Regions from separate parts of the Homo sapiens genome. Here region 1 is linked to region 2. The links are contacts of gene promoters, found by promoter capture Hi-C in blood cells and fetal thymus (Javierre and others, 2016). All regions are on one chromosome and are shown on one strand. The core of a region is centred on a gene start or on the middle of the fragment in contact, and the rest is flanking DNA. Distances in the headings are between cores, read along the strand shown.

The links. The method cuts DNA at HindIII sites, captures the fragments that hold promoters and counts their contacts. A CHiCAGO score of 5 or more calls a contact.
Region 1: a contact is called between a fragment that was not itself captured here and the fragment with the promoter of DHX35 in region 2, in 4 of 17 cell types (neutrophils, total CD8 T cells, total CD4 T cells and 1 more). The highest score is 6.8, in neutrophils.

Annotation. Positions count from the first base shown.
Region 1 is chr20:38,027,284-38,031,605 of GRCh38, forward strand. The region is part of intron 1 of TTI1 (TELO2 interacting protein 1); the gene reads right to left. Among named protein-coding and RNA genes, the nearest start is that of TTI1, 4.0 kb to the right of the region's middle. The HindIII fragment of the contact is 1,523 bases long and covers 1,847-3,369 here.
Region 2 is chr20:38,960,538-38,964,808 of GRCh38, forward strand. DHX35 (DEAH-box helicase 35) reads left to right here and starts at 1,807. Exons shown (of 22, transcript NM_021931.4): 1 at 1,807-1,870. The coding sequence starts at 1,831. RefSeq lists a silencer at 1,672-1,791 and an enhancer at 1,832-2,141. The HindIII fragment of the contact is 4,420 bases long and covers 1-2,824 here.

The DNA.
Region 1 (4,322 bases), core at 1,358-3,857, 930 kb before region 2:
GATTATTACAACACCTAACACAATGCAAATGTTATGTAAACAGTTGTTACACTATATTGTTTTAAAATCTGTATTATTTTTGTTGTTGTATTGTTATCTTTTACTTTTTATTTTTTTCAAATACAGTTGACCCTTGAACAATGTGGGGGTTAGGAGTGCCAACCCCCTCGAGCAGTCAAAAAATCTCTATAAATTTTGACTCCCCAAAAACTTAACTATTGACAGCCTACTGTTGACTGGAAACCTTACTGATAACATAAACAGTTGTTTAACATAAATTTTTTATGCTGTATGTATTATATGCTGTGTTCTTACAATAAAACAAGCTACAGAAAAGAAAACGTTATTAAGAAAATCACAGGCTGGGCCCAGTGGCTCACGCCTGCATCCCAGCACTTTGGGAGGCTGAGGTGGGTGGATCACCCGACGTCAGGAGTTCAAGACCAGGCTGGCCAACATGGTGAAACCCCGTCTCTACAAAAATACAAAAATTAGCCAGGCATGATGGCAGGTGCCTGTAATCCCAGCTACTCAGGAGGCTGAGGTGGGAGAATCACTTGAACCCGGGAGGCGGAGGTTGCAGTGAGCCAAGATCGCACCATTGAACTCTAGCCTGGGTGACAGAGCGAGGCTCCATCTCAAAAAAAAAGAAAGAAAGAAAAGAAAATCACAATTACTATTCATTAAGTGGAAGTAGATCATTACACAGGTCTGTCTTCATCTTTGTCTTCACCTTGAGTAGGCTGAGGAGGAGGTGGGTTGGCAGAAGGGAAAGAAAATCTGCATATAAATAGATGGCCGCAGTTCAAATCTGTGTTGTTCAAGGGTCTACTGTATTTTCAATCCACAGTTGACTGAATCTACAGAGACGGAACCCATGAATATAGAGGGTCAACTATAATTGTATTAAGCATAAAAGGTCTAAATACATCAATTAAAAGATTGAGATTGGCGGAGTGGATTTAAAAACATGATCTAACTACACGCTGTCTATAAGAAACTCACTATGCAGAATTATAGAGGCTGATTGAAAATCAAAGGATGGAAAAAGATATTATCATGTAAGCATTAATCAAAGGAAAGTAGAAGTAGCTATATTAGCACCAGATAAAGTAGACTTCAGAGCAAAAGAAAAAAAATTACCAGAGACAGAGTACAATGAATAACAGGTATATCTACTAAGAACATACTGCAATCTTAAAATGTATATGCTGTAAAATGTGTGAAACAAAAATGGATAAAACTAAAAGGAGAAACAAATTCACAATAGATGGTGGTGACTTCAATATTCCTCTCTCAACAATGGATAGGATAACTAGACCAAAAATCCACAAGGATATAGAAAAACCACCACCATCAACCAACAGGACCTATGACATTTATAGAACACTCCATCCTACAATAGCAGACTACACATTCTTTTGTTGTTGTTATTTGTTTTTTTAGACAGGATCTCACTCTATTGCTCAGGCTGCAGTGCAGTGGCTCGATGATGGCTCACTGCAGCCTCAATTTCCTGAGCTCAAGCAATCCTCCCACCTCAGCGTTCTGAGTGGCTGGGACTCCAGGTGCATGCCACTATGCCCAGCTAATTTTTGTATTTTTTAAAGACCGAGTTTCGCCATGTTGCCCAGGCTGTTCTTGAACTCCTAGGCTCAAGTGATCCTCCTGCCTTGACCTCCCAAAGTGTTAAGATTACAGGCATGAGCTACAGTGCCTAGCCCACATTCTTTTCAAGTGCTCATAGAACATAAGACAGATGATTATCCTGCCATAAAACAAACCTCAACAAATTTAAAAGAACTGAAATCATACAGAGTGACATTCCCCAGCCACAATGAAATCAAGCTTGAAATCACTAACACAGAGATAACAGGAAAATCTCCAAATACTTGGAAACTAAACAACATGTTTCTAAATAATCCACGGAACAGAGAGGAAACCTTAAGGGAAATTAGAAAAAAAATAGGGAAATGAATGAAAATGAAAATATGACACACCAAAATCTGTGGATACAGCTATAGCCATGCTGAGATGTAAATTAATAGTACTAAGTCATATATTAGAAAAGGGGAAAAGTCTCAAACGAAAAAGGTAAACTCCTACCACAAGAACCTAGACAAAGTAGAGCAAAATAAAGCAAGCAGAAGAAATAATAAGGAGCAGAAACTGACAAAACTGAAAACAGAAAACACAGAAAGTCAATGAAATAAATAACTGGTTCTTTGAAAAGGTCAATAAAATTGACAAACTTCTAGCAAGATTGACAAGGGAGTGAGTGAGCAAGAGAGAGAGAGAGAGAGAGAGGAGAGAGAAGAGACGAGACACTGATACTGGAAATTTCCAATATCAGTAATGAAACGGGACAGTACTACAGACCCTGCAGACATCAAAGGGTAATATGGGAATGCTATGGTTTGAATATCCGTCCCTTCCAAAACTCATGTTGAAATTTAATTCCCAATGTATTGAGAAGTGGAGTCTTTATAAGCCCTCATAAATGGATTAATGGGTTATCATGGGAACTGGTGGCTTTATAAGAGCAAAACAGACCTCAGCTAGCACACTCAGCCCCCTGGCCCTGTGATATCCTGCACTGCCTTGGGACTCTGCAGAGTCCCCACCAGCAAGAAAGTTTTTTACCTGATGTGGCCCTGTGACCTTGGATTTCTCAGCCTCCATAACTGTAAGAAATACATCCTTTTTCTTTATAAATTACCCAGTTTCAGGTATTCTGTTATAAGCAACAGAAAACAAAGACAGGGAATACCACAAATAGCTTTACCCATATAAATTTGACAACTTTGATGAAGTGGTTAATTCCTCAAAAAACACAACCACAATAGGAAAGAGATTATTTTAACAGCTTTATAACTTTTAAATAAACTGAATTTGTCACTTAAAAACTCCAGAAAAAAAAGGAAGAAGGGAAGGAAGGGAGGGAGGGAGGAGGGAGGAAGGAGGAAGGAGGGAGGGAGGGAAGCAGGGAGTGGAGGGAATCTCCAAACCAAGATGGTTTCATTGGAGAATTCCGCCAAACATTTAATGAAGAATTAACACCAATTCTGCACATACTCTTCTAGAAAAAGAAGAAACACTTTCCAATCCATTTTATAAAGCCAGTATTATCCTGATACCAAACCAAAGGCAATACAAAAATTAAAAAAATCTATAGACCAATTTCTCTCATGAGTATAGATGCAAAAATCCTAAAGAAAATATTAGGAAATTCAGCAGTATGTAAAACACACACACACACACACACACACACACACACACCATGATAAAGTGGGGTATATTTCAGAGATGCAAGACTGGCTCAATATTTGAAAATCAATTAGAGTTGTTAATACTAACAAGCTATTAACAAGCTTAAGAAGAAAAATCACATAATCATATCATCCTCACCTTTCAGACCTCTATATGTTGAAGAATCCTAGGACTCAGTCTCTTTTTACACCTTATTCCGTTATGACTCTCACATTTTTATCTCTAACCCAGATAGCTCTTCCTTGAATTCCAGACCCATAAACCCAACTGCCCCTTAGACATCTATACTCAGATAGGCATTTCCAAATGGACATGTCCAAATACAAATGCTTGCTCTTACTCTCCAAACCCACTCTTTTCTGTAATTCAGTAAATGGAAGCGCTATTCTTATAGTTGCTTAGGCCAAAACCCTTGGAGCTATCTCAACTCTCATATGTCTTTCACACCCCATATCCAATCTATCAGCGGATCCTGTTACCTCTTCCTCTAAAATATCCCCAGAACTGTCCCTTTCTTACCACTTCCACAGATACCACCCTGGTTTGAGTTATCCTTTCACCTGGGTTACTACAACAGCTGCCAAACTGGTCCTTCCTGCTTCTACCTTTGCACTCTTACTGTCTTATTTTCTACCTAACAGCCACAATGCTCCTTCTTTGTGCAAAACTGCCCAGTGGACTTCATTTCATTCAGAGTAACATCTAAAGTCTATACTATTGCCTACAAGTCACCATGTGATGCAGTCCCTTCGTACTTTTCTGAACTAATTTCCAGCCACCCTTCTAGTTCATATCACTCCAGCTTTATTGTCCTCTCTGCTGTTGCTCCAAAATGCCAACAATGGTATAAACTTGGTTTTCCCTCTTCCTGGAACAATGGCATATGGCTTGTCTCTCAAATGACATCTTATCAATGAGGCCTTCTCTGAGAAGCATAAGTAAAAGACTACCCACCTACACATATACATTCCTTATCCTCCTTATCTCCTTGATTTTTATTGAAGTTACTTACCACTTTCTGACTTATTCTAAACTTGCATGTTTGTTTTTCT
Region 2 (4,271 bases), core at 557-3,056:
CTACAGATCAACTAAAACTAAGCCTAAAGCATGATGTTTATCTACACTCAATAGGCACTTGTTACTGGGCTACGAATGTGAATGTGACATGGTCCTCGTCCTCAGTAAGTTCCCTGTGTAATAGTGGCGGCAGGTAAACTACAGATCAACTAAAACTAAGCCTAAAGCATGATGTTTATCTACACTCAATAGGCACTTGTTACTGGGCCACGAATGTGAATGTGACATGGTCCTCGTCCTCAGTAAGTTCCCTGTGTAATAGTGGCGGCAGGTAAACTACAGGCAACTAAACTACAGGTCACTTTTCTCACAAAAGTGAGAATACAGTTCCTAGACTACAAGGGGGAATGTTTAAGTTGGATAGATAATTTAGAGCTAGCCCTTTAAGGGATAAAGATAATTTAAAGGATGGATGGAGAATTCTAGGCCGAGGGACTAACAGATATTGAGTCCCTACATTAATTACTATAAAAATAAATCAAAGAAGATTCTTACATGAACCTATGCAGGTAAATTCAGATTTTTTTCCCCCTGGTGGATTTGCTCTGAGTTGAGGTAATGAGAGCTAACATTGATTCAGTGCCTGCTATGTTTTGCACTGTTAGGTACTTTACATGTTATCTCATGTAATACCTCTTTAAACCTCATTTTACAACTAAAATTAAATGACAGCTAGGAGCTAGGAAATGGCAAAGTTACGATTCCAAGTCTGGACTGGTTGTCCACAAAAGCCCCTGCTCTTGCCATAATGATGCCACTTCTTTCAAAGAATTCAGAATTTTCTTCACAGCTTTAAAAATGCATAGATTCTGAAGCCTCTCACTTCCTTCCAATTAGTTGCCTACCTAGAAAGTTATTTCCTCCACTTGAGCTCATCACCCCTTCTTAGCGCTCCTTTGGATTACTGTAATTTCTTTTTCTTTGACCTCACCTTTCGTCTGATGGATTAGTGTAATCTTTCCCAAATTTGTTAATCTGAAGAATTCAGGAGCTTCTCAAAATGCAGGTTCCCAAGCCATGCTCCAGGACATCGATTCAGAATTGGATCAAGGCCTAGAATCTGTGTTTTTAACAAGCATTTGACTCAAGGGTATCAAATTGGAGGAAGCACTGAGTTGGTGGACTACCTTAATTGATCTACCCATTTTCAGTCTCTTCTGCCAACCCATTCGCTCCACCCCACCCCCAGTCCGTTTTTCCGTTTTGCCCTCAAGGTCCCTGAAGACTTCCATATCATTTCGCATTGTTTTATTTGGGGCACTGTGCCGCACTACCTGGGCCCACAGCAGGCGCGCAATATTTACTGACAAATACAACCCACGAGGTAGTTCCTATTATTACCCTTCAATTTGAAATTGAGAATAAAACAGAAGTCGACAAGTTGAGGTAGCTTGTGACATCAGTATTTCGTATTTAATCCAGAAAGCACTGCTTCAACGCCCAGTGCGTGCAAGGTTCCACTCTCGGGCCAGCGGTCCTCTCCCAAAGCCCGTTCTTCCTAAGTGTGCGGCCGCCATCCAGGACACGCCACGCTCGTAAAAGGTCACCTGAAGCATCTACCCTCCACGCTCAAGAGGTAGGCGGAGGAGCGCGCCCTTTTCTCCAAAATGGCTGAGCAGGGTCACGTGGGCTCGGGGGCGGGGCCGGTGCGCTCGCCGGAGCCTGGAAGTGGGTCACGTGGCTCAGACGGGGGCGGTAGCTGTGGGGGCGTGGCCGTCACACGGCGCGATCCGTCTGGGCAGCGGCTCTTCGGGGGCCACGCCCTCCGGGCCCTGGGGGCCTAGCGCGCGACGGTGGGGTGGAGCTAGCCTCGTGACCTTTTACCCCAACATGGCTGCGCCCGTGGGACCGGTGAAGTTCTGGCGACCCGGTAAGGCCCTTGGTGGAACGCTGGGCAGATGCGGCGGCCTGACTTCGGTCTTGGCGCCGCGGCCGGCGCCCTGGGGCCAGCAGACCTGCTCGCAGGCCTGACCTCGGCGAGCTGGGCGCTGCCGCCTCTGTGCGGGGGGAGCTCTGGCTCAGGCTCCCCAGTGGTCCCGAGGGATTTGGGGGTGCTCCCCTAGCGTGAGCAGAAACTCTTTGTGACCTTGTTAAAGTGGTCCAGCCTCCTCAGGCCTCGTCTTCCTCGTTACTGATGCTTGTCCTGCCCACCCCGCGAGATGGGGAATCCTAAAGCTCCCTCTCGTGTCTCGTTAGCGCCCTGGGGTTGCGCTGTGGCCCGACAGACAATGCTGCTCGCTGCTGGAGGCTTGCAAGCCCAAGTTATGGAGTCAGACTGTCCGGGTTCGAATTTTCGTCTCTGCCTTGTAGTAGGGTGACCTTGGGCGAGTCACTTAATGCCTCTGAGCCATGACTTCTTTACCTGTAAAGTGGGCAGAACAATAGCTTCTATGCTGTGGGCTTAAATGACAAGCAGAACGCGTTGTCAGACTTAGAATAAATGCTCAAAAAAAGGGAAAGTGTGTTATTTTCTTTTAGGATAATTGTTGTCCACTCCGAATGTCTACTAGAAAAGGGAACAGTCCTTCATATTGGCTGCCAGCCACTTCCTCTCTTACAGACTAACACGAATCACAATCACAAAATGCTTTACTTGTTTTGTCTTGATATTTACTCATTAATCAGGTTTTTACTGAATGTGCATATGCCAGACCGTACTAGATGCATTACTTCCTCTCTGCAAACAGTTTCTTGTAAAAAACAAAAGTTTTTAAATTACAGCTACCAGCTTGATTTTTTTCTACCACCTGCACCCCTGCAGGTCTGGATGTGCAAAGTATATTGCAGCAAAAATGAAATGACACCAAGAATGTAATATAAGCAAAGCTTTTAATTTTTCAGTGGTTCTCTGAAATTCTGACCATGCATATAAGTGATGTGAGAGATAAACCCAAGCAAGAGATATGTTTAATGCTTTTTAAAAATTTGTAGTCTGTCACTTGACAGTTTTATGGTTCAGCATTTCAAGTCATCAGCCAATTATCCATCCTGAGTTTTATTTGCATCCAAAACTAGGAACTTACTAAGTAATGAATACTTTTAATTTATTCACGCTTTTAGTAACAGGTGAAAGTGTTAGGTATAATAAAGAGCTGAATTAATTGTTTGAAATCAGACCAGGGTACTATTTTGGTTAAAGAACGTGGAATTACTCTTAAGAGTTCTATTTCATTATTTAGTTCATCCATTGAGGGTACACTTATTGAAAACCTAATCCTGTGTTCAGGAGACAAATACAGATGCTCAGGGCTCTGCTCTCAAGTTACTGTCTCTCTCTTAATTGAATATAAAGTTAGATGTCCTCTAGAAGAGATTTTACAATGAGACAGAGTAAGGTGGTGGTAAAGAAGATGAGCTCTAGAGTCAGACTGCAGTGCCCATCATGTCTACCACTTACTAAGTTGATGACTTGATAGTCACTTAAATTCTCAAAGTCTCAGTTACTCCATCTGTAAATTGGGTATAATACCTACCCTACCCAAAGTAGTGTTGTGAGGTTTAAATGAGAATAACACACAACAGGATCTTGGCACTAGATAGGTTACTATTATAATTATATGGAAGTATGGAAGAGGGAGGGAAAGTTGAATGTATGGATAAGAAATACTTCATTAAGGTGGTATTTTTGGAGTGAACATTAAAGGATGAATAAGGTTTTGTTTCATAGAGAAATGGAACTCGAAGCAAAGGGTGCAGCATGAACAAAGGCAGAATGGGATTTGTGCCTTTAGAATGTCCAGAAAGCCAAAATAACAGAGCAGTGTGATAGTGTTAAGTGCTAGGGTATATTTTGGGGTATGACAGGAGATGAAGCTAGAAAAGTAGGTAAGGGCCTCATTGTGAAAGGTCTTCATGACAAGTTAAAAAGTTTAGACTTCACTGTTTTTTTGTTTTCTTTCTTTTTTTTTTTTGAGATGGAGTCTGGCTCAGCCGCCCAGGCTGGAGTGCAGTGGCGCAATCTCGGCTCACTGGAACTTCCACCTCCCAGGTTCAAGCGATTCTCCTGCCTCAGCCTCCTGAGTAGCTGGGACTACAGGTGTGTGCCACCACACCTAGCTAATTTTTGTATTTTTAGTAGAGATGGAGTTTCAGCATGGTGGCCAGGATGATCTCAATCTTTTGATCCCGTGATCTGCCCACCTCGGCCTCCCAAAGTGTTGGGATTACAGGCGTGAGCCACTGGGCCTGGCCTGACTTCAGTGTTTTTAAGCAGGAACAAATCAGGTTTACTTTAGAAAGATAACACTGGCAGTGGAGTAGAGAGTGGATGG